5 separate regions of the Homo sapiens genome follow, and regions 2, 3, 4 and 5 are each linked to region 1. The links are contacts of gene promoters, found by promoter capture Hi-C in blood cells and fetal thymus (Javierre and others, 2016). All regions are on one chromosome and are shown on one strand. The core of a region is centred on a gene start or on the middle of the fragment in contact, and the rest is flanking DNA. Distances in the headings are between cores, read along the strand shown.

Evidence for each region. Contacts are between HindIII fragments. The CHiCAGO score rates a contact against its expected background, and 5 or more counts as called.
Region 2: a contact is called between the fragment with the promoter of ZNF846 here and the fragment with the promoter of CNN1 in region 1, in 1 of 17 cell types (neutrophils). The highest score is 5.0, in neutrophils.
Region 3: a contact is called between the fragment with the promoter of MAST1 here and the fragment with the promoter of CNN1 in region 1, in 2 of 17 cell types (activated CD4 T cells and non-activated CD4 T cells). The highest score is 6.2, in activated CD4 T cells.
Region 4: a contact is called between the fragment with the promoter of RNASEH2A here and the fragment with the promoter of CNN1 in region 1, in 2 of 17 cell types (non-activated CD4 T cells and fetal thymus). The highest score is 10.2, in non-activated CD4 T cells.
Region 5: the fragment with the promoter of MAN2B1 here is called in contact with the fragment with the promoter of CNN1 in region 1 in 2 of 17 cell types (erythroblasts and monocytes); the score reaches 7.4 in erythroblasts.

The regions. Positions count from the first base shown.
Region 1 is chr19:11,535,911-11,541,622 of GRCh38, forward strand. CNN1 (calponin 1) reads left to right here and starts at 2,941. Exons shown (of 7, transcript NM_001299.6): 1 at 2,941-3,080; 2 at 5,166-5,287. The coding sequence starts at 3,018. RefSeq lists silencers at 39-108, 119-488, 3,917-3,966 and enhancers at 1,912-2,857, 5,631-5,712. The HindIII fragment of the contact is 23,519 bases long and covers 1-5,712 here.
Region 2 is chr19:9,766,585-9,772,296 of GRCh38, forward strand. ZNF846 (zinc finger protein 846) reads right to left here and starts at 2,154. Exons shown (of 6, transcript NM_001077624.3): 1 at 1,705-2,154. RefSeq lists a silencer at 1,969-2,138 and enhancers at 2,082-2,947, 2,219-2,438. The HindIII fragment of the contact is 9,482 bases long and covers 1-5,712 here.
Region 3 is chr19:12,834,882-12,840,593 of GRCh38, forward strand. It overlaps MAST1 (microtubule associated serine/threonine kinase 1), which reads left to right and starts at 3,634. Exons shown (of 26, transcript NM_014975.3): 1 at 3,634-3,774; 2 at 5,565-5,653. The coding sequence starts at 3,692. It also overlaps a transcript of RTBDN not described here. RefSeq lists enhancers at 1-185, 5,621-5,680 and silencers at 3,247-3,430, 3,435-3,614, 3,665-3,714. The HindIII fragment of the contact is 9,607 bases long and covers 2,585-5,712 here.
Region 4 is chr19:12,803,558-12,809,269 of GRCh38, forward strand. RNASEH2A (ribonuclease H2 subunit A) reads left to right here and starts at 3,027. Exons shown (of 8, transcript NM_006397.3): 1 at 3,027-3,243; 2 at 3,451-3,522; 3 at 3,649-3,772; 4 at 3,862-3,949. The coding sequence starts at 3,117. THSD8 (thrombospondin type 1 domain containing 8) reads left to right here. Exons shown (of 2, transcript NM_001386800.1): 2 at 547-832. The coding sequence ends at 746. RefSeq lists a cis regulatory region at 2,274-3,306 and enhancers at 2,751-2,880, 3,081-3,130. The HindIII fragment of the contact is 3,433 bases long and covers 381-3,813 here.
Region 5 is chr19:12,662,401-12,668,112 of GRCh38, forward strand. MAN2B1 (mannosidase alpha class 2B member 1) reads right to left here and starts at 4,342. Exons shown (of 24, transcript NM_000528.4): 1 at 4,143-4,342; 2 at 3,303-3,405; 3 at 2,952-3,125; 4 at 2,392-2,585; 5 at 1,303-1,435; 6 at 917-1,062. The coding sequence starts at 4,301. WDR83 (WD repeat domain 83) reads left to right here and starts at 4,407. Exons shown (of 11, transcript NM_001099737.3): 1 at 4,407-4,592. It overlaps WDR83OS (WD repeat domain 83 opposite strand), which reads right to left. Exons shown (of 4, transcript NM_016145.4): 4 at 5,673-5,712. RefSeq lists enhancers at 2,012-2,960, 2,961-3,908, 3,565-3,614, 3,675-3,804, 3,825-3,954 and 2 more and a silencer at 4,205-4,484. The HindIII fragment of the contact is 17,009 bases long and covers 1,882-5,712 here.

The sequences.
Region 1 (5,712 bases), core at 1,691-4,190:
GACACAGAGACAAAGGCAGAGACAGAAAAAGGCTCAGCGACCCAGAGACGGAGATACAGAGACACAGACCTACTACAATCAGAGGGACAAGGCAGTCCCCGAAAGGGCTGCCCCCTGGGGGTACCCGGGGCTGCCCCGTTGGGGGGCACGCCAAGAGCTCCCCCACCCCGCCCCCGTCGTGCCTGGGCCGTGACTTCAGAGTCCGTGCAGATTCTATAAATGGCCAAGAGGCCGCGGGCCGGGGGGCGGGGCCGAGTGAGTCATCGCGTGACGTCACCGCCGCCTGGACCTCGCCAGGTCCCGCCCCCGCCCCTCCCGGGCCGCCAGGGGGCGCCGGCTGCAGGTCCTCACATGCGCAGTAGCGAACTGCGGCCCCCGAGGGCCGCTCAGTTTGGGAGGGATCCAGGAATCTGCGCGTTCGAATCCCGCCCCTGCCACCCTCGAGCTGTGTGACCCGGCCATTCGGCGTCACCTCTCTGTGCCTCGTATAGACCCACCTCATAAGGCTGTCGTGAGGAATGAGTTAACAGGCTCAAAGCTCTTAGTACGTAGCAGGTGCTAATTGTTAGCTCATTTTATGTACTTTCTATTTTTTCTTTTTTTTTTTTTTAAATAGAGACGGGGTCTCGCTATGTTGCCTAAGCTGGTCTCGGGTCTCGAACTCCAGGGCTCAAGCGATCCTCCCGCCTTGGCCTCGTATTTTATGTATTTTCGTGTATGTTCAACATATCATGACATGCCATCAACTAGCACATTGCCTTAGCTCAGTGGTTGGCAAACAGGGGTGATCTGCTTCCACCCCGACCCCAATCATGGGACATTGGCAATGTGTGTAGACATTTCTTCTTTTAATTTTTCTTTTTTAGAGACCATGGTCTTGCTATCTTGGCCAGATGGTTCTCAAACTCCTGGGCTCAAGGGATCCTCCCACCTCAGCCTCCTTAGTAGCTGGGACTACAGGGTCCTGCCGCAGTGCCTCAACATTTCTGTTTATTAGGACTAAGAGAGTGCTACTGGCATGTAGCAGGTAGAGGCCAGGCATGCTGCTTGAAGTCTTACAATGAATGCCCAAGGCAGCCCCCCAACCATGAAGAATTATCCAGCCTCAGCTGTCAACAGTGTGGAGGTTGAGAAACCCCACCTTAGCCTCATAGTTGAGGTTCATGGAGCATGGTCTCAAATTCTCCTCTGCCCCTGGCCTGCTGTGTGACGCTGAAAAAGTGATTCCAAGCCCCCGTGCCTCAGTTTCCCCACCTGTAAAGCAAAGTACTTGTATTAATAATAACAGTGTCAGCTGGGCACGGTGGCTCACGCCTGTAATCCCAGCACTTTGCAAGGCCGAGGTGGGCAGATCAACTGAGGTCAGGAGTTCGAGACCAGCCTGGCTAACATGGCAAAACCCCGTCTCTACTAAAAATACAAAAAATAGCCAGTCGTGGTGGCAGACACCTGTCATCCCAGCTACTTGGGAGGCTGAGGCAGGAGAATCGCTTGAACCCAGGAGGTGGAGGTTGCAGTGAGCCGAGATAGCATCACTGCACTCCAGCCTGGGGAATAGAGACTCTGTCTCCAAATAATAATAATAATAATAATAATAATAATAATAACAGTGTCCATCTCTGAGGGCGTCATGAGAATTGAATGGATATATGTACAGAGTTGGAACATGGCCTGACATAAGGGCTGTAGTCTGTGGCATATTGCAGCCATGCCATTAGCATGTGACCGATAAACTGCATATCCTCAACATATCATTAGTGTGTGGCAGGTTGCAGACATGTCATCCAAGTGTCACAAACATGGCCTTGCCATGTGGGGCATGATGTGGGCATAGCATCCACCCCTGTGGTCCAGGGGTGAGATCTGGCTGGGTAGGGCTGTTTGACAGGGACACAGTTCACGGCCTGGGACTTGCCAACAAAGTCACCCTGTAGTTCAGGTGACACACAAGTGGATGGGGAGGGTGAGACCCAGGATCTCTTCTCCCCCAGGTCCTTATGAGGGGCTGGAGGAGACAGAACTGGGGTGCTGGACCCTCAGCATAAAGAATGCTATAGGCTGGGCATGGTGACTCATGCCTGTAAATCCCAGCGTTTTGGGAGGCCAAGGCGGGCAGATTGCTTGAGCCCAGAAATTTGAGACCAGCCTGGGCAACATAGCGAGACCCCGGGCAACATAGCGAGACCCCATCTCTAAAAAAATAAAATAAAATTAGCCAGGTTGGTGGCACAAGTCTGCAATTCTAACTACTTGGATGGGCTGAGATGGGAGGATCACTTGAGCCTGGGAGGTCAAGGCTGCAGTGAGCTGTGATTGTGCCACTGCACTCCAGCCGAGGGGACAGAGTGAAACCTTGCCTTAAAAAGACTGCTATGGCCCGAGTCCCTCTGCTGTGCCGGGCACTGTGCTGGGCATGTAACAGGCATATTCTTCTGATCTTTACAACTCTCCCATGAGGCAGGCACTATCGTTAGCCCATTTTACAGATGTGGCCATAGAGGCCCAGAGAGGAGAAGGGGCTTACCTAAGGCTATAGACTGTTGGTATCTGGAGATAAACCCGGGATGGTGCTCACTAAACTACCTTGGGTGTCAGTCCTGCTTCAAGACTCCAGAGAGATAAAGAGAGATGACCTCAGAGACAAAGAGACTCAGACCCAGCCAGAGGCCCAATGGACAGTGGGAGGGGTGGGTGGAAGAAGGCTGGTCTCTGTCTGACCAAGCCCCCCCAGAATAACGCAGGCTGCCCCCCTAGGTGGAAACAATGACACAATCAGCTCCCAATACCAAGGGCCTGACATCACAAGGGGAGGGGAAGGCAGCTGAGGTTGTGGGGGGAGGTGCCCCGCCCCTTGGCAGGCCCCTACAGCCAATGGAACGGCCCTGGAAGAGACCCGGGTCGCCTCCGGAGCTTCAAAAACATGTGAGGAGGGAAGAGTGTGCAGACGGAACTTCAGCCGCTGCCTCTGTTCTCAGCGTCAGTGCCGCCACTGCCCCCGCCAGAGCCCACCGGCCAGCATGTCCTCTGCTCACTTCAACCGAGGCCCTGCCTACGGGCTGTCAGCCGAGGTTAAGAACAAGGTAGGGCTGGAGGGCCTCCCTGGCCTGGCCCACACGTCCTGCCAGGCCAGAGCCCTGAGCTTGGGGTCCCTTGAACCCCCTCCTGCCTATCCTATGTGACTTGGAAACTGAGAGGGGAAAAGGGAGTGATATGGGATAGGGGCTGCCTGTCTCCCCCTGAACATCCCGGAGCCCCCAGCTATGGTTGGGGCTGGAATGGGGGGGCACACAGCCACACATAAACAGAGGGGGTCAGTCCATTGCAAAGATACCCACCTGATCAGTCTTCTGTTAACCCTTCGTGTTCTTGGGGGGAACAACATAGGGGGAAGACTTGTTGATTTTTCCATATCCCCCGGCCTGACAAAGAAATTGGGGAGCGCTTGAGTGCTGGGGTACCTGGGAAGTGACGCCGTGAAAGTGTGGGAGATCCTGAAGACAGAGGGGGACGGTGAAAGGCAGGAAGCGGGCATCAGAAGTGCGGCAGGGGTCTCCTGACTGTGGAGCTAGGAAGATACCTGGACACCACCTTCATGCTATGGTTGGGTAAACTGAGGTTCGGAGAGGAGAGGCAAATAGCTGGGGTCCCAGGTAAAGCAGGTACAGCGCTCGGACCCTGGACTCACCCCCCATACACCAGGATGGGCTCAGCTTCTCCCAGCTGGAGAACTTTAAGTTTCCAGCCCACTGGAATCGCCCCAACAGTATTGCCGAGGGAGGAGTTCCTGCCCCATTTGACAGAGGGGAACACTGAGGCTCAGGGTGGCTTTTCCCAGGGTCCCATGGTGAGGAAGTGGGGGACTGGGTTGGAACCTGGGTCGAGGGATCTCGGGGCTGGAGGAGGGGGCTGGTGGGGGGCGGGTCCTCGGGCGAGAGACAGATCCCAGCGCCGCCCTCCTCCCCCCCAGCGCCGGCCCCAGAGCCGCGCAGAGCCGCGCAGAGACGCCGCGCCTTATAAGGCGGCCTCGGGGAGCCCGGGCCACGCTATATAAGGGCCGGTTTGCTTTATAAAGCCGGGCTGGTGGCGTGGGGGGCGGCAGGGCCAGGGCCAGGTGAGGGGGCCGCCCCTCCCACCTCCCCCCACTCACCCGGGAGAAGAAGAGGCAGCCCGGTCCCCTAGGGGCTGGGAGCCTGGCTGGGCTTGGGCGGAGGGTTCTGGAGAAATGGGAGTGGAGTGGGGGAGGGGGGGGACAGTGGAGAGAGGGAAAAGCAGGGAGGTGGGGGGAGAGGCAGACAGAGATACTGGGAGCCTGAGACACCCTAGGGACAGACGGGGGAGGGCGAGCCAGGAGCGAGATAAGACCTAGACAAGGATGGAGGGGCAGGGAGAGGAGACAGAGCCCCACCACCCCCACCCCAGGCAGGAAACCTGGAGACAGAGAAAGACCTAGAGAGGCAGATATACAAGACCCAGGAGCCCTACCCCTGGCCAGACAGGGACTAGCCACCTAGAGAGATGGGGACCCAAGACTGGGCCAAGAAAAGACAGCGCTGGGGAAGAGAGAGACAGAGGAGTCGGGGGGATAAGAGGGAGAGAGACATACAGACGTGCAAGGGGTGGGGGCTAAGACAGAGACAAGCCCCCACCACTAACCAGAGACAGAGCCCTGGAGCTGAAGACCTGGGGGACACGGAGAGACAGAGATGTATGACCAGCACTCCTCTGCAAGCCAGCACCCAGGGACACCTCCTTAGACATCCTTCTTCCCTTCCTGAGGTGCCCTCTCTTCCAACAGGGGGCACAGAGGGGGCAGGGCTAGAGGAAGAGAAGCCCCAAGTTTGGCCTGGGCGAAAAACCAGGGTGCCGGGTGCCACCCCTCTAGCTCAGAGGATCCAGCTCCCCACACCCCACCCCTCATCTACATTCCCTGGTGCCAAACCTCAGAATGCCCGGAATGGCCCCCTGGGCAGGTGCCACCTCAGCCCTGGCTCTCAGCCCGCCCCAGCCCCCATCCCCCAACTATGGATCTGGGGCAAAATTGCCTTAGTTGGGAAGGACGAGGGAGATCAGGCTCTAGGAAGTTCAGACAGGACCCAGGGAGCCCAGGCTGCCCCCAATGCATCCTCACCCCTTTCTCTGTGCCCCCTGCCCTCCCCTCGCCCCAGCTGGCCCAGAAGTATGACCACCAGCGGGAGCAGGAGCTGAGAGAGTGGATCGAGGGGGTGACAGGCCGTCGCATCGGCAACAACTTCATGGACGGCCTCAAAGATGGCATCATTCTTTGCGAGTGAGTGAGGCTCTCGAAGCCGAGACCCTGCAACATCCCCCAACTCCATGCAGCCCCTCAACCCCCAAAACAACCATGATCCTGGAACTGAGTTGAACACTTTCTATTGGATACCTTTGGGGTGGCCAGTAATCATTGTGCCCATTTAACAGGCACAGAAAACTGAGGCTCAGGTGAAATGCATTGCACCAAGTCCCACGTGGTTTCAAGGGAAATGACTCTAGAATCTTAACCACCATGCTATATAGGGTAGGCCCATCTGTGGCCGCCAGAGTCCCCAGAAAGAGCGGTCACAGCTAAAAGGCAGCAGCCAACAGCTGTTCATGGCTGGCTTGGTGATGTGAGGAGAGATGTGCAGCAATAATTAAAGGAGGCCCTGGTTTTCTTTCTGTTTTCTTTTTGTTTTTTTGAGATACAGTCTTGTT
Region 2 (5,712 bases), core at 904-3,403, 1.8 Mb before region 1:
TTTTAAAATGTAGCTGGGCATGGTGGCTCACGCCTGTAATCCCAGCACTTTGGGAGGCCGAGGTGAGTGGATCACAAGGTCAAGAGATGGAGACCATCCTGGCCAACATGGTGAAACCCATCCTGGCCAACATGGTGAAACCCCATCTCTACTAAAAATACAAAAATTAGCTGGGCATGGTGGCATGCACCTGTAGTTCCAGCTACTCGGGAGGCCAAGGCAGGAGAAGCACTTGAACCCGGGAGGTGGAGGTTGCAGTGAGCCGAGATCATGCCACTGCACTCCAGCCTGGCAACAGAGCAAGACTCTGTCTCAAAAAAAAAAAAAAAAAAGTGTTCTCTTCAGCAATGCATGCACATCTTAAAGAAGACTTGATATTGTCACTGACTTTAGTTATGCTTTTATTTATTTATTTTTTTTTTTGTAGAGATGGGGTCTCACTATGTTGTCCCAGCTTGTCTCAAACTCATAGCTTCAGTGGCTCCTCCTGCTTCTGCTTCCCAAAGTGCTGGGATTACAGGGGTGAGCCACTGTGCCCGGCCTAGTTTTATTTATTTATTTATTTATTTAGACGGTGTTTTGCTCTTGTTGCCCAGGCTGTAGTGCATTGCCACGATCTCAGCTCACCACAACCTCTGCCTCCCGGGTTCAAGCGATTCTCCTGCCTCAGCCTCCCGAGTAGCTAAGATTACAGGCATGCCCCACCACACCTGGCTAATTTTGTATTTTTAGTAGAGACAGGGTTTCTCCATGTTGGTCGGGCTGGTCTGGAACTCCCAACCTCAGGTGAACCGCCCACCTCGGCCTCCCAAAGTGCCAGGATTACAGGTGTTTAAGTTACCGCACCCGGCCAATACACATTGATCTACACAAGAGATGCAAAGAAACAGAAAACATGCAAAATATTAACAAATGATCAGTCTACAACAAGGATATATAATAGGTGTTCAATATTCTGGCCTTTCACATTTTCTTTGGTTTAGAATATTCAATCTACAGATAGCCTGGGCAACAAACCAAGACCCTGTCTTTAAAACGTAAATAAATAAATAAAAATATATGAGGGGGAAGGCCAGGCGCGGTGGCTTATACCTGTAATTCCAGCACTTTGGGAGTCCGAGGAGGGTGGATCACGAGGTCAGGAGTTCGAGACCAGCCCAACCAACATGGTGAAACCCCGTCTCTACTAAAAATGCAAAATTAGCCGGGCGTGGTGGCACATGCCTGTAATCCCAGTTACTCAGCATGCTGAGGCAGGAGAATCGCTTGGACCGGGAGACAGAGTTTACAGTGAGCCTATATCACGCCATTGCACTCCAGCCTGGGCAATAAGAGCGAAACTCCGTCTCAAAATATGTATATATACGAGAGGAAAAACGCTGAATCAAAACATGTCTCTTTCACAGTTAATACAACTGTAATTTCTGATACTGGTATAATGAAGGCGGCATCCTACTTCCTGGAAGCCCCTCCGTTTTGAAGCTCTTTGGGAGGTACTGACCTAGGAAGTTCAGCTGCTTTTGATCTCAAAAACACAGCGGAGTATTGCTACTTTGCTTTATAACTGTGGCAATATTTGCTTTTATTTCTATAAACCTACAACTCCTGCACACTTGACAAAGCATTTAACTGCTGAGCAATTTCGCAAACTTCAATAAGCGATGCCCTCCCACAGCCAGATCATCTCCTCCGTCCAGGGCTCACCGGAACGCACTGCAATCGCCCTGTCGGTGACAAGAGGACGCTGGGGCCCTTTTCCACAACAGCTGAGATGCTTTTCCTTCTGGAGAAAGGACACAAAGGTTGACTGGCTGCTTTTAAACAGAGGGGCACGGTGGTTGGAGAAAAAAACACGTCTCCACCGGGGACCCTGGGCCAGGCCCAGACTGATGCGGGCGCAGCGGGAAGAGGCGCTCAGAAGAGAAGGCGGGAACCCCCCGCCTCGGGGTCCTGGCGGGGAGGAGGCGCCGCTTCTCCGGAGCAGCAGCGGGAGGCCGGCGCGTCTCAGACCTAGCAGAAGTCCGGAGCGTCACCCTCCGACCCTCGCTCCGCCTCCCGCTAGGCCCTCCTGCCCCGCCCTGCCTAGGTTGAGCATGAGCGCTGGCTGAGGTGAAAACCCAGCTAGGAAGCTGCTGGAGAGCGGGGAATACGTATAGCTGCGCGCCGGCTGGCACTTCCGCTTCCGGTTGCGCACGGCATTAAGTGTAGGGGCCGAGCCCCAAGAGCTTTGGAATGAGGATGATGTGAAGCTGAGAGAAGAGCTGGGGCCACCTCTTCGACACGCGTACAGAAAAGTCCCGTTTTCTCGCATCCCAGGTGGACCAGGATCCAGATCAATCTGTCGATATTGGGAACGACGCCGGACCAGGAAACCCAGCGCCAAGGGCCGGGTTGGAGGCGGGGACTGGCGCAGCGGGCGGGGCACGCGTGGAGGCGTCACCTAAGGCTTCGATTGCAGACAGCGGGATGCTCATCGAGTGCTTTTCTTTTCTTTTTTAATTTCTCTTTTTAGTTTTTTGAGATAAGGCTCCGGTCTGTCGCCTAGGCTGGAGTGCAGTGGCTCGGTCATAGATCATTGCAGCCTGGAATTCCTGCGCTGAAGCTATCCTCCCGCCTCGGCCTCCGGAGTAGCTTGGACCACAGTTGGGCCCATCACGCCCAGCTAAGTTATCTTTTTCTAGACACTTGGGTCTCACTGTGTTCCCTAGGCTGGTCTCGAACTCCTGAGCCTAAAGGATCCTCCCCCCTCGGCCTCCCAAGCAGCTTGGACCACAGGTGTGTGCCACCACGCCTGGCTAATTTATTTTTATTTTATTTTTATTTTTTTGTAGAGACAGGGTCTCTCTTTGTTACCCAGGCTGATCTGGAACTCCTGGGCTCCAGTGATCCTTCCACCTTGGCCTCCCAAAGTGCTGGGATTATAGGCGTGAGCCACCACCCTAGGGAAATTCTTTTCTGCAGGATTTTCTCCTTGTTTCTTCAACCCTCTGCAGGGATATAAACATATTTACAAAGATAATCCCGCTGTAGTCCTAGCTACTGCGGGAGAATCGCTTGAGCCCAGGAGTTCGAGACCAGCGACACCCTGTTTGAAAGATTAACCTGATGGGGCTGGGGGCAGTGGCTCACGCCTGTAATCCCAGCACTTTGGGAAGCCGAGGCGGGTGGAACACGTGAGTTCAGGAGTTCGAGACCAGCCTGGCCAACATGCCGAAACCCCATCTCTACTAAAAATATTTTTTAAAAAATAGCCGGGTGTGGTGGTGGGCGCCTGTAATCCCAGCTACTCGAGAGGCTGAGGCAGGAGAATTGCTTGAACCTAGGAGACTGAGGTTGCAGTGAGCTGATACGATGCCACAGTACTCCAGCCTGGGCGACAGAGTGAGACTCCGTCTCAAAAAAAAAAAAAAAAAGATTAACCTGTTAATCCATAAAATGCTCTGTGCCTCTGATACATTCAGTTCCTTCTTTAGGCCTTTAGTTTTGTTGTGATACAATTATCATAGCATACAATTAACCTGTTTAAAGTGTACAGTTTCGTGGCTTTTTGTATATTCATATATTTGTGCATCGATCATCACAATCAATTTTAGAACATTTTCATGACCACAAAAATAAACCCAGTACCCTAGCCATGATCACCCAATCTGCTCATCCAGCCCCACCCCCACCCCCAGAGTCCAAAGCAACAGCTAATCTTTCTGTCTGTATAGATTGCCTACTGTAGATATTGCCTGTAGAATTAGAATATAAAACACGTGGTGTTTGGCTTGTTTCATTCAATGTTTTCAAGGTTCATCCAATTAGCATGTATCAGTACTTAATTTTTTTTTACTAAATAAGATTCCATTGTATGGCTGTATCATAACATCAGTTGTTGGATATTGGGTTTTCTCTTTTTTTTTTTTTTTTGGCTTTTTTGGATAATACAAGACGCATTTTAAGCAGTGGTCAAAGGAACATTCATATTCCTAAACACTTTTGTCAATAAAAATAAGAATAGCTGGGTGCAGTGGCTCACACCTGTAATCCCAGCATTTTGGGAGGCCGAGGCAGGCGGATCACCTGAGGACAGGAGTTTAAGACCAGCCTGGCCAACATGGTGAAACACGGTCTCTACTAAAAAATACAAAAACCAGCAGGGCGTGGTGGTGCGCACCTGTAATCCCAGCTTCTCGGGAGGCTGAGGCAGGAGAATCACTTGAACCTGGGAGGCGGAGGTTGCAGTGAGCTGAGATGGCGCCACGGCACTTCAGCCTGGGCAACTGAGCACAACTGTCTCAAAAAAATAAAAAATAAAAAATAAATCCCCAGCTCAAAAAATAAAACCTAGAAAAAGAATATAAATGTAAACCAAAATGGAAAAAGGTTTATTTATTTATTTATTTTTTATTTCAATAGCCTTTGGGAAACAGGTGGTTTTGGGTTACATGGATAAGTTCTTTAGTGGTGATTTCTGGGATTTTGGTGCACCCATCATCCGAGCAGTGTACAATGTACCCAATGTGTAGTTTTTTATCCACTTTTATCCCTCACCCTTCTCCCACCCTTCCCCCAGAGTCCCCAAAGTGCATTCTTTCTTTCTATCCTTTTTTGTTTTGTTTTGTTTTTTCTTTTTGAGATGGAGTCTCATTCTGTTGCCCAGGCTGGAGTGTAGTGACATGATCTTGGCAACCTCCGCCTCCCAGGTTCAAGCAGTTCTCTTGCCTCAGCCTCCTGAGTAAGTGAGATTACAGACATGCGCCACCATGCTTGGCTAATTTTTGTATTTTTAGTAGAGATGGGGTTTTCCCACGTTGGCCAGGCTGGTCTTGAACTGCTGGCCTCAAGTGATCCACCCACTTCGGCCTCCCAAAGTGCTGGGATAACAGGCGTGAGCCACTGCGCCCACCCAAAGTTCATTATATCATTCTTATGCCTTTGCATCCTCATAGCTTAGTTCCCACTTATAAGTGAGAACATATATATGGTTTTCCATTCCTGAGTTACTTCACTTAGAATAATAGTCTCTATCCAGGTTGCTCAGAATGCTATGACTTTCTTGCTTTTTATAGCTGAGTGGTATTCTGTGGTGTATATATACCACATTTTTGTTATCCCCTTATTAGTTGATGGGCATTGAGACTGGTTCCATATTTTTACAGTTGCAAATTGTGGGCTGTAAACATGTGTGTGCAAGTGTCCTTTTTTTTTTTCTTTTTTGAGATGGAGTCTCCACTCTGCTGCCAGGCTGGAGTGCAGTGGCCTATCTTGGCTCACTGCAACCTCCGCCTCCTGGGTTCAAATGATTCTCCTGCCTCAGCCTCCCAAGTAGCTGAGACTACAGGTGCACACCACCATGCCCAGCTAATTTTTGTATTTTTAGTAGAGACGAGGTTTCACCGTGTTGGTCAGGATGGTCTCGGTCTCTTGACCTCGTGATCCACCCACCTCAGCCTCCCAAACTGCTGGGAATACAGGTGTGAGCCACCATGCCCAGCCTGTTTCAGACATTTTTAAGACTATGTCCCATTCATTTAAAATACTATTTTTCCCCATTGAATTGTTTTGACACCTTTGTCAACCATCATTAGACTGTAAATGTGAGCTTAGATGTTTTAAATGGAGAATTATACCAAACCTTCCAAGTTCAAATATTCCCAGTGCTCCATAACTTAAGAACAATGAAAATGAAGAAATACTTCCTAATTCCTTTTATGAAGAAAGTATAAC
Region 3 (5,712 bases), core at 2,384-4,883, 1.3 Mb after region 1:
GAGGTCCGGTCCCAAACATCCCAGAGGGGAAGGTGATGATATCTGTGCCCCAAGGCCCTGCCTGGGGTCTGGCCCTTCTGAGCCTCCTTGGGGCTCAGCCCCAGGCTTGGTAATCTGGAGTTTAGATAAAGCCGAGAATGGGCCCAGACTCAGGCTCCATCCCCAGCCTGAATCTTGGGAAAAGAGGATTCAAACCCTCACCTAGGGCTTCGTCCATTTCTAGACTCCCCTAATCCATCATTCCCGAGGTTGAAGGCCAAGGGGAGCTGATTGGTCAGTGCAGCAGGAAAAATGGTGATCAGACTGCAGGAAGGACCTTCCAGGCGTCTGGGTAACGCCGGAGCCAGACATGAGTTGGAAAACTAATTTGCTTTCAGAGCCCAGATGGCCCGATCTCCGGAGCCTAGGCCTCTCTGAAGTGCTCCCACATTCTCTCCGCCTCTCGGGGGTGGGTTAGGAGAGTGGGTTCCGAGAGAAGGGAGGCAGCTGCGGCAAAGTTAGAGCAAGTACTGCAGCAGCCAGGTTGGGTCCGCGCCGTCGGGTTTCTGAGAAAAGGGAGGAAAGAGGCGGGGCCTGCACGGTGTGTCCCCGCCCTCCAGGCCGGCGTCAACTCTCATTGGCTCAGCGCCACGCGGGACTTTAAACTCCCGCTCGAGACACCGCCCCCAACGCGGAATGCTTCCACTCACCCACCCACCCACTCAACCCCAGGCTTGCTCTGGGTCCGGCGATCCCTGTCGGAGTCCTGTCCCCACCGCTTCCCTTCTGGCGGGATTAACCACTTCGCTGCCTGGATACACCCACATACGTTGGTGCATCCTCTTAGGAACTGTCGCATCACTGCTGAGCGCCCGAGGGTCCCCTGTGTGCAGCTAGGCTCTTTTTTTTTTTTTTTTTTTTGAAACGGAGTCTCGCTCTGTTGCCCAGGCTGGAGTGCAGTGACGCAATCTCGGCTCACTGCAACCTCCGCCTCCCGGGTTTAAGAGATTCTTCTGCCTCAGCCTCGCTAGTAGCTGGGATTACAGGCTCATGCCAACATGCCCGGCTAGTTTTGTATTTTTAGTAGAGAGTGGGTTTCACCATGTTGGCCAGCCTGGTCTTGAACTTCTGACCTCAGGTGATCCACCCGCCTCGGCCTCCCAAAGCGCTGGAATTACAGGCGTGAGCCACCACGCCCTGGGATCTTATATGTAGACAGCATCCTGAGTTCGAATGCCCTGTCTGCAGTGTCAACTATTAATCCTGTGCGGGAGAAGCGGAATCCACTTGGCCGAGCGGCTCTGCAGCTGAGATTGGAGGTGGCGTCTGTTTACACTGACGCCAAAGACCCGAACTTCCGCCGCTCCAGTTTGACCCTTTCTTCGTCCCTAGAATGTTTGGGGGCGCTAGCGGGTGGGGCTGGGTTCCAGGTCTTCTTCGGGTGGTGCTTAAAAGCCCTCCAGGGGCTTACCCTCCAAGGCCGGTTACCCGGATCTGGACACCCTGGGCTCTGTGGCCAGAAAATCCAGGTCTTGATTTCGCTTGGGCCATTGCAGACACGCAGCCAGGTCGACTGGTCCTCATTCACTCCGGTCATGCAAAGACAGAGGGAAAACCTGGTTTGGATTATCGGTCACCCGTGGCTCGGGAGGGCAGGGCTGCCCTTTGGCCCCGCCTATATGTTTGTCCGTTGTACAACGGGGTGGGAGGACGCTGTGGCCCATCCTCTGTCATGCAGCATGTCCCTCCTTAATAACGCCTGTTCTCCAGACTTAGTATTTATTGAGCACTTGCTATGTGCTAGGCACCATGCTAAGGGGCTAGGCATCTGCATCAACTCCTAAGATCCTCAAGGAGACACGGGACTATTGGAAGGTCATTTGCCAAGGTCATAAAAAGCAGAATTGAGATTTGAACCTAGGCTTTTTGCTTTTAGAGATCCTAGAAATGTCTAGGACATCCCTCATTTTCCTTTTGTTGGAGTCCCCTCCAAAGGCCTTTTGAAACTCTCCCCCAAATCTTTCCACCTGCAGCCCCACTCAGTTTCCTTCCTTCCACCTCACCCTGTGGATAGAAAACTGGCTGGCAGGTGTTGCCCCTTGTACCCCATTCCTTTCCTCAGAAAAAAGCCAAGACCCCATATCTCCTGATCCCTACAGTGACTTCCTAAGAGCTTGACAAATGGAAGGTGACCTTCTTCAAATGCAGACACATAAAGTTAATACTCACTAATTATTATTATTGTCATTATAAAAAATGACTATGCGGCCATCACCTGAATTTCCATTTTTATTTTTTTATTTTTTAAACTTTTTATTATTTATTTATTTATTGTTAATTGAGAGGGTGTCTTACTCCAGCAGTGGTGCAATCATAGTTCACTATAACCTCGACCTCCTGAGCTCAAGAGATTCTCCCACCTCAGCCTCCGTGGTTCCCATTTTAAATCTCAGTTGTGAGTCACTCTACTTACCTACCCCCCACCCCCTACCCCAACTCTATGACTCTAGCTGGGAGTCAGATAGATCTGCTGAGGTGTAGATGAGTCATTCATTCTTTCAACCTTTCATTCATTCAACCTTTCATTCATTCATTGAGTACGCTAAGCTTATTCCCGCCTCCAGGCCTTTGCCCTTGCAGTTCCCTCCACCTGGAATGCTCTCTCCACAGATCCTCCCATGGCTGGCTCTTATCTTTCAGCAACCAGCTTAAAAGTCACCTCCACAGAGCAGCCCTGTCTGACAATGTGTCTCCATCCTAGCCATTGTCCATCACATCACCCTGTTTAATTTATTCATAAGACTAATTATTGTCTAAAATGATTTCGTTCACTTCTACACTAATCTTGTTTAATGTCCCCTTTACCCTATAAATACTAGTCCCAAAAGGCCAGAAACTTTTTTTTTTTTCTCCTTGAGACAGAGAGTCTTGCTGTGTTGCCCACGCTGGTGTTTCCTTGGACTCAAGCGATTCTCCTGCCTCAACCTCCCAAGTAGCTGGGACTAGAGGTGCACACCACCACACCGGACTTGTAATTTATTCACTACTGTGTCCCTAGTGCCTAGGATTGGGTCAGCATACAGTAGGTGCTCAAGACATATTTTTCAAATAATGATTCCTATTTCATTTGCACAAACACACGCTGATATGCCAACTCACTTGCCTTTATATGGCGCCCCGCCTGTGTACGTGGGCCTCTGTTGGTCTCTGAGGGTCAGGAGAGGAATCACCCAGGGATCCTCTCCCCCAAGAAACTTGGCCCGCAGTGCATGGCCAAGGGTGAAAGTGACAGTGCTGAAGAGGGGCCTGTCTTACCCTGCTTCTGCTCCTCCAGGGAGTTGATAATGCTTGTGGGCAGCAACGGCAGGTCCACGCTGACCTTCATCGTTTTGCCCCTTTGCCTTCCAGAAGGATTTGCCCCTGCCCCGGAAAAGCAGCAGGTGAGCCTGGGGAGAGACGTGGCGGGGGCTGGCCGCCCCTTCTCCCGCCGGGGTGGGGGCGCCAGGCGAGTGCGCGGGCGGGGCCTGGCTCGCCGGCACGCAGCAGCGCCCCCTCCCGGCCGGCTGCAGCCGCAGGGCCCTCCCCTTCCCTGCCCTCCCCTGCCCGCTGCGGCGGCTGCAGCCTCCGCCCCGCGCGCTTGCTCCCCGCGCCGCCGCCGCCGCCGCCTCCGCCGCTGCTGCCGCACCTGCCACCATGTCGCCGCCGCCGGGTCATGTCTGACTCTCTCTGGACCGCGCTTTCTAATTTCTCGATGCCCTCCTTCCCCGGCGGCAGTATGTTCCGCCGCACCAAGAGGTAGACCCCCGATCCCCTAGACATTGTCCCGGCCCTCCCCGCAAAAGCCGCCGCTCCGGGTACTGCTGCAGGGCGGGGCCCGGGATGCTGCGCCCGGTCCAGCTGCGCCAGAGGTGCCCCAGCTGCGCCTTCCCGCCGGGGTTGGGGTTGAATGGGGGGTGGTGTGGGCCGAGTCTGGGGGGCTTGCACGCTGGAGAGGACGGCCGCGGGGGGAGGGGGCTGCGCCACTGGGGGTTTGTGGCGCCTTTGTCTGCTGGCGCTGCGGGCTCCAACAGCCTGGTGGGGGTAGAGGAAGAAGGGGAGGCTGGGGGGCTTGGCACCCTCAGAACAATAGCCGCAGCCTGGCCTCCCCCCACCCCCATGCCGCGTGCTCCTGGACGCGCTAATATGCTCAGTCACTGCGGCTGTGGGTGAGGGGACGGACGGAGGGGCTTGGGGCTCCCTCTTCGGGAGCTGGATGCTGAGGGGTAGAAAAAAGGGGGGGTTTATCATAACACAACCCCCCCCCCCGAACACAGCCTTACACTGAAAATAGTGACACACAGCGTCACACAGGACATGATGTCACACACATACACACAACAGCCCTAGTGGCCCAGATACACTGGGAGGTGCCACACATACCTAGCCTTGCAGCTGCCACAGGTCAGAACCATGCACAGACACACAGGGGCACCACGTCGTGTACACCTAGTAAGATGTCACTTACATGGCGATCCACACACACACAGTTATGTCATCCAAGATGCAAACATGTGTTTCAATATCCCATCCATGCATCCAAGAATGTCACAACACACGATGTCATATCTAGGTATCTCACATACTATGTCACACTGACATCAGGATAAACAGATGTAGGGATCTTGCAGAGACAGAACCACGCAAAATCACATGTTATCACATTGCAAGACTCACCTAGAGAATGTCAAATGTGGTGACATGTTTGGACACAGTGTCACAAGATGTTAAATTCACACAATAGATGCTACATACACATGGACAAGCATGGTGAATGTCACACCCAGACGGAAGGACAGTATCGGACACAGACTCAGAATGCCACACAAAGACATAGATACATGTAGGGGGGATCATGCATCCTGGCCAGGCATGGTGGCAGGCACCTGTAGTCCCAGCTACTCAGGAGGGTGAGGTGAGGCGGGAGGATTGCTTGAGCCCAGGAGTTTGAGGCTGCAGTGAGCCACTGCACACTGCACTCCAGCCGGGCGACAGAGCGAGACATTGATTTAAAAGAAAAAAAATAATAATAATACAACCTGCCTGTGTTACAGCACACATTGTTATGGACAAGTGGCATTTCACACTGTGTCACATAGACACACAAATGCTCAAATTGTATCACACAAGATAAACCCACGTTGTGTCACACGTATCACACTAGAATGCATTCAGCGTCACACATTGTTGAATTCATACAGTGGATACCACACGTGGATACCTACAGTGAATGTCACGCATAGACTGAGACACGCTCAGTATCACCAATGGTGTCACCTAGACACAGTGACTATCACACCATGACAGACACTGCCCTACACATAATCCATACTGAGAGTTTCTCACACACATGTCATATGCACATCCCCTGCCGTACACAGTCCTGCCGAGGCCTGCACCACCTTTCTTCGAGAAACCCTCCCAGGGAGCCTCCAAACACACATGGATGGGAGATAGGCGGGGATCTGAGACAGGAGGTCAGCTGGTGGGGCTCAAGAACTCACTGGGCTGCGGCCCGGCCCGGCCCCCCTGCCTTACCTTCCCCGCAGCTGCCGCACCAGTAATCGGAAAAGCCTCATCCTGACCAGCACTTCACCCACGCTACCGAGACCCCACTCCCCGCTGCCAGGTCACCTAGGTGAGGCCAGTGGTAGAGACTTGGTGGGTGCAGACTGGCCTACAGTAGGCGGGGCCTCA
Region 4 (5,712 bases), core at 1,777-4,276, 1.3 Mb after region 1:
TGGAAGGTTGGCTTGCTGTCTCTGGGTCTTGGTTTCCCCACCTGAGACTCGTGGAAATATTAAATGAGGCCAGGCATGGTGGCTGGCTCACACCTGTAATCCCAGCACTTTGGGAGGCTGAGATGGGAGTATCACTTGAGCCCAGGAGTTCCAGACCAGCCTGGGCAACATGGTGAAACACCGTCTCTGCAAAAAATACAAAAAATTAGCCAGGCACAGTGGCATGTGCCTGTAGTCCCAGCTACTTGGTAGGCCGAGGTAGGAGGATTGCTTGAGCCCAGGAGGTTGAGGCTGCAGTGAGCTGTGACTGCGCCACTGCACTCCAGCCTGGGCGACAGAGCGAGACCCTGTCTCAAAAAAAAAAAAAAAAAAAAAAAAAAAGCTTAAATGAGATAATCTGTGGCAGGGTGTCTGGCATAGAAGCAGAGTCTAGCGAATATGTGCTTCTCTTATTCGTTAGTATCTTTATCTTTCTCCCTCTCTGGGGGAGGGGATTGGGAGTAGGCCCCCTCCACGTAGGTCTTCACCTCTGCCCTCCTTCTCTAGAAGTCGAGGACTCAATCCTTGGCCCGTGGGGAAAGTGGCGGTGTCTCTGCGACCTGGGCAAGCAGGAGCGCAGCCGCGAGGTAGTGGGCACAGCGCCGGGCCCGGTTTTCATGGACCCGGAGAAGCTGATCCAGTTACGGCCCTGCCGGCAACGGGATTGTCCATCCTGCAAGCCCTTCGACTGCGACTGGAGGCTCTGAGCCCGGGTGAGAGAGCAGGGCCGGGGCAAGTTGCGGGGCCCAGGGTGGGCGCGGAGGGAGGATGTGCGGTGCGGGGCGGGTATGAAGCGAGTTTGAGGAAGGGAGAACTGGGGCTCCAAGTCTTGAGTGACTTGAGGCTGATTTGGTTAGGGGGAAGCTGAGTCAGGAGCCGTGAGCCCCGCTGATATCTAGGGAGAAAAGGAGAAAAGTGGAGGGGGCGCCGGGCGCCGGGGCTCACGCCTGTAATTCCAGCATTTTGGGAGGCCGAGGCAGGCGGATCTCTTGAGTCCTGGAGTTCAAGATTAGTCTGGGCAATATCGTTGAGATCACCTCTCCATAAAAATTTTTAAAATTAGGCCGGGCGCGGTGGCTCACGCCCGCAATCCCAGCACTTTGGGAGGCCAAGGCAGGCGGATCACAAGGTCAGGAGATCGAGACCATCCTGGCTAAAACGGTGAAACCCCGTCTCTACTAAAAATATAAAAAATTAGCTGGGCGCGGTGGCGGGCGCCTGTAGTCCCAGCTACTCGGGAGGCTGAGGCAGGAGAATGGCATGAACCCGGGAGGCGGAGCCTGCAGTGAGCCGAGATCGCGCCACTGCACTCCAGCCTGGGCGACAGAGCGAGACTCTGTCTCAAAAAAAACCAACCAAACAAACAAACAAACAAAAACATTTAAGTTAGATGAGCGTGGCGGCACATGCCTGTGGTCCCAGCTACTCGGTACGATGGGGAGGAAGGATCGCTTGAGCCTGGGAGGCAAAGGTTACAATAAGCCGAGATCGCTACACTGCTATCCAGCCTGGGCAACAGAGTAACATCCTGTCTCAAAAAAAAAAAAAAAAAAAAAAAAAAAAAAAAAGTGGAGGGGGAGGCGAAGAGGAGTAAAAGGAGATAAAGAGACAATGAACTAGGACCCTGAGGAAGGGGCATGAGCCTGGTAAGGGGCGGGAACCCACAGGCAGAGGACATGAGCCCCAGTGAGCCCAGGGAATAGAAGTGGTGGATGCCAGGCACTGTGGCTGGCTCAGGCTTGTAATCCCAACACTTTGGGAGGCTGAGGCGACCGGATCGCTTGAGCCCAGGAGTTTGAAGCCAGCCTGGGCAACATAATGAGACCCCGTCTCTACAAAAAATACCAAAAATAGTCGGGCATGGTGGTGTGGTGTGCACCTGTAGTCCAGCTGCTTGGGAGACTGAGGTGGGAGGATCGCGTCAGCCCAGGAGGTGGAGGTTGCAGTGAGCCAAGATCGCGCCACTGCACTCCAGCCTGGACAACAGAGAGAGACCCTGTCTAAAAAAAAAAGAAGGCCGGGTGCGGTGGCTCACGCCTGCAATCCCAACACTTTGGGAGGCCGAGGCGGGCGGATCACAAGGTCAGGAAATCGAGACCAACCTGGCTAACACGGTGAAACCCCATCTCTACTAAAAAGTACAAAAAATTAGCCGGGTGTGGTGGCGGGCGCCTGTAGTCCCAGCTATTCGGGAGACTGAGGCAGGAGAATGGCGTGAACCCGGGACGCGGAGCTTGCAGTGAGCGGAGATGGCGCCATTGCACTCCAGCCTGGGCGACAAGAGCGAGACTCTGTCTCAAAAAAAAAAAAAAGAAAAAAAAAAAGTGGGTCGAGGGGTGGGGGTGGGGACATTCATTCTAAGTTGGGAGGAATGAGCTTCTATAGGGAGCAGAGACCCTGAGCAGGAGTCCACCGAGGTCTGTGATCTCCAACGGGGGTGGGGAAGGCTTGGCCTGAATGAGACAGAGGTTAGGAAGCACAGATCTTGCACGGAGTGGAGGTGGGCCGAAGGGAGCAACCAAGAGAGGGAGTTTGGGGACTCCAAATCCAAAAGCCTGGGTTTAGTGGAAGCGGGGCTACCTGGTCCAGGGGACTTAGAATGTGTACAGAAGCAGGGACCGCAAGTACAGGGCCTGAATCCAAGTGGCAGTTGGGGACCCAGTGATGCGGTGACCCGTGTCCTGGGAGTGGGGTGATATTTGACTCTCTAGTTCCCCGTTAGGCTGGGTCTTCGAAGCTACGTCTCAGTTTCCCTCTTATTTCCCCCTCTTCCCACCGGGCCACGCAGGCGGGGCCCCAGAGACCGTGAAGCAGAGCTTGCAAAGTGACCCCGTCCACCGAATTCCCCAAGCTGAGTGTTCGGCCATAGCCCTTCGGGACTACAATTCCCAGGAGGGCGCACGGCAGCGACGTCGGCGTCGGCTGCGTAAGCGTCCACGGCGGCGGGAGCGCCAGGGGCGTGTTCTGCCCGCGGATTGGCCGGAAGCAGGCGCCGCTTCGAGGCCCGCGGAAAACGCGCGCCGAGACCCGCTCCTGCAGTATTAGTTCTTGCAGCTGGTGGTGGCGGCTGAGGCGGCATGGATCTCAGCGAGCTGGAGAGAGACAATACAGGCCGCTGTCGCCTGAGTTCGCCTGTGCCCGCGGTGTGCCGCAAGGAGCCTTGCGTCCTGGGCGTCGATGAGGCGGGCAGGGGCCCCGTGCTGGGTGCGCCCCTAGGGCCAGGGAGGGGAGGGGCGTGGTACGGAGGATGCGGGAAACGGGAGTCGGGATTGCACTGCACCAAGGGAGGGGATGTGGTCGTGGTGATGGCACCTAAAGAAGCAGTGATGATAGAACAGGGATGAATGGCAACTTTCACGGGCTCAGTGATTGGACCCCGGCTGCCAGAAAACTGACACCCCTTCTCCCCAGGCCCCATGGTCTACGCCATCTGTTATTGTCCCCTGCCTCGCCTGGCAGATCTGGAGGCGCTGAAAGTGGCAGGTGAGCCCGAGGTGTGCGTCTGGGGAAGGGATTCCTGGGTATGTGCAGGGGCAGGTGAGAACTGAAAGGGGAGGGCAGGAACTGGGAGAACCAGCTGTTCCCCTTCTCTTCCAAACCTCCTCCCAGACTCAAAGACCCTATTGGAGAGCGAGCGGGAAAGGCTGTTTGCGAAAATGGAGGACACGGACTTTGTCGGCTGGGCGCTGGATGTGCTGTCTCCAAACCTCATCTCTACCAGCATGCTTGGGCGGTGAGGGGTCCCCGGGAGGGGCAGCCAGCATGGGCTGACCAAGCTTTGTTCCTAGAATGAGATTAACTGGGCTCTGTTCCCCACCACAGGGTCAAATACAACCTGAACTCCCTGTCACATGATACAGCCACTGGGCTTATACAGTATGCATTGGACCAGGGCGTGAACGTCACCCAGGTGAGTTAACTGTAAGTTGTCCCCATTTGGTCATCTCAGGATAAAATGGGGACAAAACAGGAGTTCGAGACTGCAGTGAGCCATGATCATGCCACAGCACTCCATCCTGGGTGACAAAGGAAGCCCCCCAACTCAAAAATGGAGGCAGGGCGCAGTGGCTCACGCCTATAATCGCAGCACTTTGGGAAGCCGCGGCGGGTAGATCACCGGAGGTCAAGAGTTCGAGACCAGCCTGACCAACATGGTGAAACCCCGTCTCTACTAAAAATACAAAAATTAGCTGGACGTGGTGGCAGGCGCCTGTAATCCTAGCTACTCAGGAGGCTGAGACAGGAGAATCGCTTGAACCCAGGAGGCAGAAGTTGCAGTGAGCCAAGATTGTGCCATTGCACTCCAACCCGGGCAACAGAGCAAGACCCTGTCTCAAAAAAATAAAAAATAAAAAATAAACTAAAAATGGGAGACCAGGCGCAGTGGCTCACGGCTGTAATCCCAGCGTTTCAGGAGGCTGAGGCAGGCAGATCACCTGAGGTCAGGAGTTGAAGACCATCCTGGCCAACATGGTGAAACCTCATCTCTACTGAAAATACAAAAAATTAGCCCAGCATGGTGGCGGGTGCCTGTAATCCCACCTATTGGTGAGGCCGAGGCAGAAGAATTGCTCGAACCCGGGAGGCGGAGGTTGCAGTGAGGTGAGATCGCGCCATTGCACTCCAGCCTGGGGGACAGAGCGAAAAATAAAAATAAAAATAAAATAAAAAATAAATGTGGGCAAAAATGTGCAGTGTGCAGATTCAGCATCAGATACGTCTGGAGTGCCTCGGGCATATTCATTGCTACTGTTGATTTCGTGCTCCTGTTTCTGCCCTAAATGTGTGCCACACTGACGACCACAGTGTAGCCCCTAGTCCCGTCTCCATCTAATCTCTCCCTCATCCTAAAGGCTCAGTCTCCAGAACAAATCCTACATTGTCTACCTGTCACCTCTGTCCTAGCCCAGGACACCCCCCACTCCCTGGACACCTGCTGAGTGTCGTCTCTCGTCCCTCACCCTCCTATCCCCTCCAATCTGTTCCCCAAGCAGCAACAGAAGGTAGTCTTTTTGAAATGCACATCTCGACATTTAGTTTTCCGATCACAGTGGAAATTAAATCAGGAAAATTCACAGTCGAGTGGGGCAGAATTACATTAAATTACCAGAGAAAAACATAAATCAGCATTGCCTCGAATGCTCTCAATGAAAGAATGGACCGTTCTGAGAGAATAACAAGGCAAAATAACCTTGACGTAGGAATTGTATGCTGGGTATGGTGGCTCACGCCTGTAATCCCAGCACTTTGGGAAGCTGAGGTGAGCAAATTGGTTGAGGCTAGGAGTTCCAGACCAGCCTGGGCAACATAGCGAGACTCCATCTCCACAAAAAGAAGAAGAAAGAAAGGAATTATAGCAAGGTAGACCCTGCTGAGGAGGGACCTGAGGACCAGGCCCAAATGCAGAGCTGGCGATACAGTAACTGGTGTAGACAGACAAGGGCCCTACCCGTAGGCGTTCAGGGCCTAGCCTGGGCAGAAAGATGGTCAGCTGGAGGTTGGGCGCAGTAGCTCACGCCTGTAATCCCAGCACTTTGGGAGGCCGAGGCGGGCGGATCATCAGGTCAGGAGTTCGAGACCAGCCTGACCAACATGGTGAAACCCCATCTCTACTAAAAATAAAAAATAAAAAAATAAAACATGAAAGATGGTCAGCTGGTAAACAAAAAATAA
Region 5 (5,712 bases), core at 3,092-5,591, 1.1 Mb after region 1:
CTGTGGGTCAAAAGGTTAGGAGTTCGAGACCAGCCTGGCCAATATGGTGAAACCCCCTTTCTACTAAAAAGACATAAAACTTAGCCGAGCATGGTGGTGGGCACCTGTAATCCCAGCTACTCGGGAGGCTGAGGCAGAAGAATCGCTTGGACCCAGTAGGTGGAGGTTGCAGTGAGCCGAGATCGTGCCACTGCACTCCAGCCTGGGCGACAGAGTGAGTCTAAAAAAAATAAAAAAGGAATTCTCAATAAAAATGTTAAAAATAGACTAGGCACAGTGGCCCACACCTGTAATCCCAGCACTTTGGGAGGTTGAGGCGGGCAGATCACCTGAGGTCAAGACCAGCCTGGTCAACATGACGAAACCCTGTCTACTAAAAATACAAAAATTAGCTGGGTGTGGTGGCAGGTGCCTCTAATCCCAGCTTCTTAGGAGGCTGAGGCAGGAGAATCGCTTGAACCCGGGAGGCGGAGGTTGCAGTGAGCTGAGATCATGCCACTGCACTCCAGCCTGGGTGACAGAGCAAGACTCTGTCTCAAAAAAAAAAAAATAATAATAAATAAATAAAAATGTTAAAAATAGAGGCCAGGTGCGGTGGCTCATGCCTGTAATCCCGGCACTTTGGGAGGCCGAGGCAAGCAGATCACTTGAGCTCAGGAGTTTGAGACCAGCCTGGACAACATGATGAGACCCCAGTGCAAAAATACAAAAATTAGCTGGATGTGCTTGTTTGAACCCAGGAGGCAGAGGTTGCAGTGAGCCGAGATCGCACCACTGCACTCCAGCCTGGGTGACAGAGTAAGACTGTCTCAAAAAAATTAAAAATAAGGAGAACGTGTTAGGGGATGCCTGTACCATGGAAAGAGCTCATTGTATTGTATATACCGGACTCGAAGGTTCTGGACACCAGGGTTACCTGGGCAGTGGCCACATTTAGGAAGTAATCGACCAGCTCCTTGGCGTTGTACTCGGGGCTGCGAGGGTCCTCCACCAGCGGCTGATCGACACACAGCACATCCCAGCACAGATTCCTTGGCGGGTTGTAACCATTGGGAAGCACACCTGCAGGTCACACCAAGTTCAAGGGGTGGCCCATCACCCAGACCTTCCCTGGTTTCAAAGCCGGCCATGTCCCACCCAGGATGGGCTTCAGAATTTGTGTCCCAATGCAAAAGGAAATGCAGGGCCTTTGTTCCCAGACTATAGGAATTCCAGGACAGTGACAACAGAGCAGATATCAAGCCCAGGGCCCTTCTGAGTGTGTGGCACCATGGCTGGCCCTGCCCTCACCAAGCCCCCTACCAGTGAAGAGGTCCGCGGTCGGGGGCTTCAGGCTGGTGCTGGCCCGCCACACCTGCTCCATCTCCAGCTTCTGCATCCGTACCCACTTATCTTGATAATCAAGGCGCCCAAAGAAGAAGCCGTCGAAGCCCATCTGGGGATGAGGGAGGAAAAGGCAGTGTGAATTAGTGCCCAGCCCTCTCACCACCAAACTCCCCTCTGCTTGGGAGGGGCAGGTCAGAGCACAGGTTAAAAAGCAGTGCTAGGTCGATGTGGTGGCTCTTGCCTATGATCCCAGCCTTCTGGGAGGCCAAAACAGGAGGATCACTTAAACCCAGGAGTTTTTGAGACCAGCCTGCACAACACGGGCAGACTGTCTACAAAAAATTTAAAAATTAGCCAGGCGTAGTGGTGCGCTCTTGTAGTCTCATCTACTAGGGGGGCTGAGACAGGAGAATCGCTTGAATCCGGGAGATTGAGGCTATAGTGAGTTAGGATTGCACCACTGCACTCCAGCCTGGATGACAGCAAGACCCTGTCTCAAAAAACAAAAACAAAAACACGTAGGGCTGAAACAGAGAGGCCTCCAGCTTATTTCCAAGCTTGGGGAAGTTTCAGAACTCACCACCTTGGGCTAGCAGGGAGAGGGCGGGTCCAACATCAGAACCCAGGTTCACCTCCCCAGCACTGTCAAAGCGCAGAGCAGGCCTGACTCCAGGAATGAGGTTCCCCCTTCCACAGCCTGAGGATGGATGGGGTCTGAGCACAGGTAATGAACCTGTTTTTAAGGCAGCCTAGGCATCCACTTGCCACCCGGTTTAGGGAGGAGCCAGGACCCGAGCTAGTGGGTGGGGCCAGAACACCAAGAGGGGCCTATTAGGGGAGAGGGCGGAGCCAGCCGGAGCTGGGTCAGCCTGGGCTGGGCATAGCCGGCTGAGGCCAGAGCTCAAAAGCCACTGGCTTTACGGCTCACTCAAGGGGCAGGGCTTCAACAGGCCTAGGCCTGGGCCTGGTCCTTGTGAGATTGCAGGGAGAGGGCGGGGTTTGACTGGGCGAGGGAGGAGCCAGAGTGAGTGAAGAAGTGGGCCCAAGAGAGGTCCCGGGTCGCACCTGCGCAAACAGCGAGGCCTGCTCCCGAGAGTGGCCGAAGGGGTCAATGTGCCAGGCCACACGGGGTCGCCCATCATTGCCAAATGTGTCCTCCAGAAAGCGCAGCCCAAGTGTCATCTGGTCCACGATGGCACCGTAGTGGGTGGCTGCCTCATCGTTCATCACCCAGCCACCATTGGCGAACTCCAGGCGCCCTGTGCCAGGACAGGCAAGGTCAGGGTCAGCGGTCAGAGCCAGGAGTGGGAGTAGGGTGGGTGATACTGGGAATGTGAAAGCCTGCCTGTGTACACATTTCTGGCGGAAGGACAAGAGGGGTCGCTCCCAGGCCATAGTTCCCAGATATGGGAAAGAGGCCCCCTGCATGGCAGGCTTCCCAGAGGATGCACAGCAGGTGGGGCTTTGTGGGATGTATAGGAGGTCTCCAAATGGAGAGTCCAGGCAGGCGGAGCGACACGCATGTTATACAGCTTGCACGTGGCATGACAAATCTCAGAAACCAGAGATGCAGAAGCAGAAGCTGGGCTGGGCTTCCTCTTTTCACTTCCTTGGGGTAGGCTCACCCTGGCGCACAAGGTCTCGCACGACTTCCTGTGTGGCATTTGTCTGCTGGTGCCACCAACGGGAGAAGAAGGCAATCTCCACGTAAATGAAGCGACGGGTGGGATCTGCCAGCAAGGCAGAGATGACCGAGTCCAGGATGTACTGCACACCGGCGTGCTGGATGTCATTCTTGACTGTGGATAACAGGGATAAGGCTCTCAGGGAACAGCAGAGCCAAGGGGGTTATTCCTAGACAGAGGAGCCCAAACCCTGGATATTAGGGTAGCACTGGCCCCACCCTAATGTCCAGGACCCAGAGGGATTACAGGGACCATGGGGATCCCAGGGACCAGTCCCCATCCTCTACTCACTTCCATAAAAGTACTGGTCCACGGTTTTGAGCCAGCCCACGTCATCATGTGTGTGAGGCAGCAGGTGCACGTTCAGCATGTTCGGCTGCACTGTGGGGCATGTCTGCACAGGGACCCCAAACACACATACCTTGTCAATAACCCCCGAGGTCGGGGGCTGCAGAGTAAGTCTTGATCTAGAGGTGAGTGACTCAGAGAGGCCTGATCTCGCCTATGTGCAGAGGAGGCCAGGCCCTCCCAGGCAGGACACACACATACATAGTTGTGCTCATAGATACAACTCCACTTTGCACAACCCCACAGGGCAGCTCTCATTCACACTCCGGGAAAATAATAATAGAAGTAGCTGATGTTTGTTCAGCATTTGCCGACAGCAGACGGCCACCGTGGGAGGTGGGGTGATGTTATCCCCAGTTTCCAGATGAAGGCACTGAGGCTTAGAGAGGATAGGTGACTTGCCCAACGTCACACACTCAGGAAGTGTAAGAGCTAGGCTGGAATTTCAGGCAGACTCCAGAGTCCCAGCTCTCAGCCAGCACCTCCCCCCACACATACACTGCTCACCCCCTGCCACCTCCTGCCCCTCCAATCCCACAGTTAAGTGCAGACAAAGTCTAGGCAAGCATCCCGGAGACACGGAGGCAGGTACAATCAGACACAGTCCTATACTCAGATGCGCACAGCCAGACCTCGCAATGACACAAAGCACGCACTCAGACCACACTGTCATATCATCAGCCATTCACTAGACACCCACAGGACAGACCCACCCACACCTCTAGACTGTATTCTGGGTTTCACTCTGCCTCCTGTACGTTTCAGCTCGGAGGCCCCACTCACCTCGTATCCCCCGGCCCGAGCACCGGCAGCCGCCAGCAACAAAAGGAAAAAGCAGAGAGGCGGGAGCGGTGGCCGCAGGGCGCGGGACATGGTCCAGGGGCCTGCTGAGTCCAGGCAGCCGCGAGCGCAGACCCCCGAAGCCCGCGCGTAGGCGCCCATGGCTCAGCAGCTTCCTCCTGGGGTTCCCCGGCCCTGGAAAGGCCGGGCAAACGCCCCGCCCCCAGACCCGGCCGGGCCAATCGGGGTGGGGGGCGGGGCCAGGGCGCGGTCTGGAGGCTCACGGGAGAGAGGCTGTAGCCCTGGGCAATCCCGGGGGTCGTTACAGGAAGGTAGGAAAATGCCACCCTCAGGGCACTGGTTGGGCTAAAGGTGACACTGGCGTCTCACGGGCTATGAAGACGGAATGCCTCTTAATGCCGGAATTCCAAGACGGAATGCCTCTTAATGCCGGTAGGAGCAGAAGTGCTTTTCCTAAGGGGGCCGGGTTTTCCTAGCCGGTGTAGTGTGTCCATGGGAATCCAGGGTGTCCGTCCCATGGACCTTCAGCGCTAGGGTCCTGGAAGGACCTAGCTTGCCTAAGAGGAGGATCTGATGAAGAGTCCTATACTGTGGGGATTGGGACGTTGGGTAAATACCCCTGGAGTACCAGGGATGGGATCCAGCCTGGTTGAGAAGGATCCCTGGGTGTTCCGGAGAGAAAAGAGGGTCTGACAAGTGGGGAAGGACCCCGAGTCTTTCATGCCTTTCCCAATTCCTACCAGTTCATTCTCTGATAAGAAAACAAAGCCCAGGGCAGGCGCAGTGGCTCAAGCCTGCAATCCCAGCACTTTGGGAGGGCCAGGCTGGTGAATCACTTGGGCCTGGGAGTTTGAGACCAGCCTGGGCAACATGGGTTGTTTTGTAGAGACGGGTTTGAAAACACAAAATTTGTAATTTTACACAAAATGTAAAAATACAAAAATTAGCTGGGCATGGTGGCACATGCCTGTAATCCCAGCTACTTGGGAGACTGAGGCAGGAGAATCACTTGAACCTGGGAGGCGGAGGTTGCAGTGAGCCGAGATCAAGATCATGCCATTGCCCTCCAGCCTGGGCAACAAGAGCAAAACTCTGTCTCAAAAAAAACAAGAATTAACTGGGCATGGTAGCACGCATTTGTGGTCCCAGTTACGTGGCAGGCTGAGGTGGGAGGATTGCTTGAGCCCAGGAGTTTGAGGCTGCAGTGAACATAGATTGTGCCACTGCACTCAGCCTGCATGACAGATCAAGACCATTTTCTTTCTTAAAAAGGAAAAAAAAAAAAGGAAACCAAAGCCTAGATTATCTAGGTCAGCAGGGCCATCTGGTGAGTTGCCAGAGGGCAGAAGTCACTGTCTTGTCCCTAGCACCTGACTTAAGACACAAGGTTTATGAAGTAAGCAAATGAACAGCCAGAAGCCTCCAGACTGGGGCCCCACACCAGGCCTATGGGGCTAGAGCCCTTCCCGCCAGGTAGGAGGAACACCCCACTGAACAGAAGAGGCTGACAGCCAGAGTGAAAAACTTTATTAACAACAGGTTTCAACGAGAA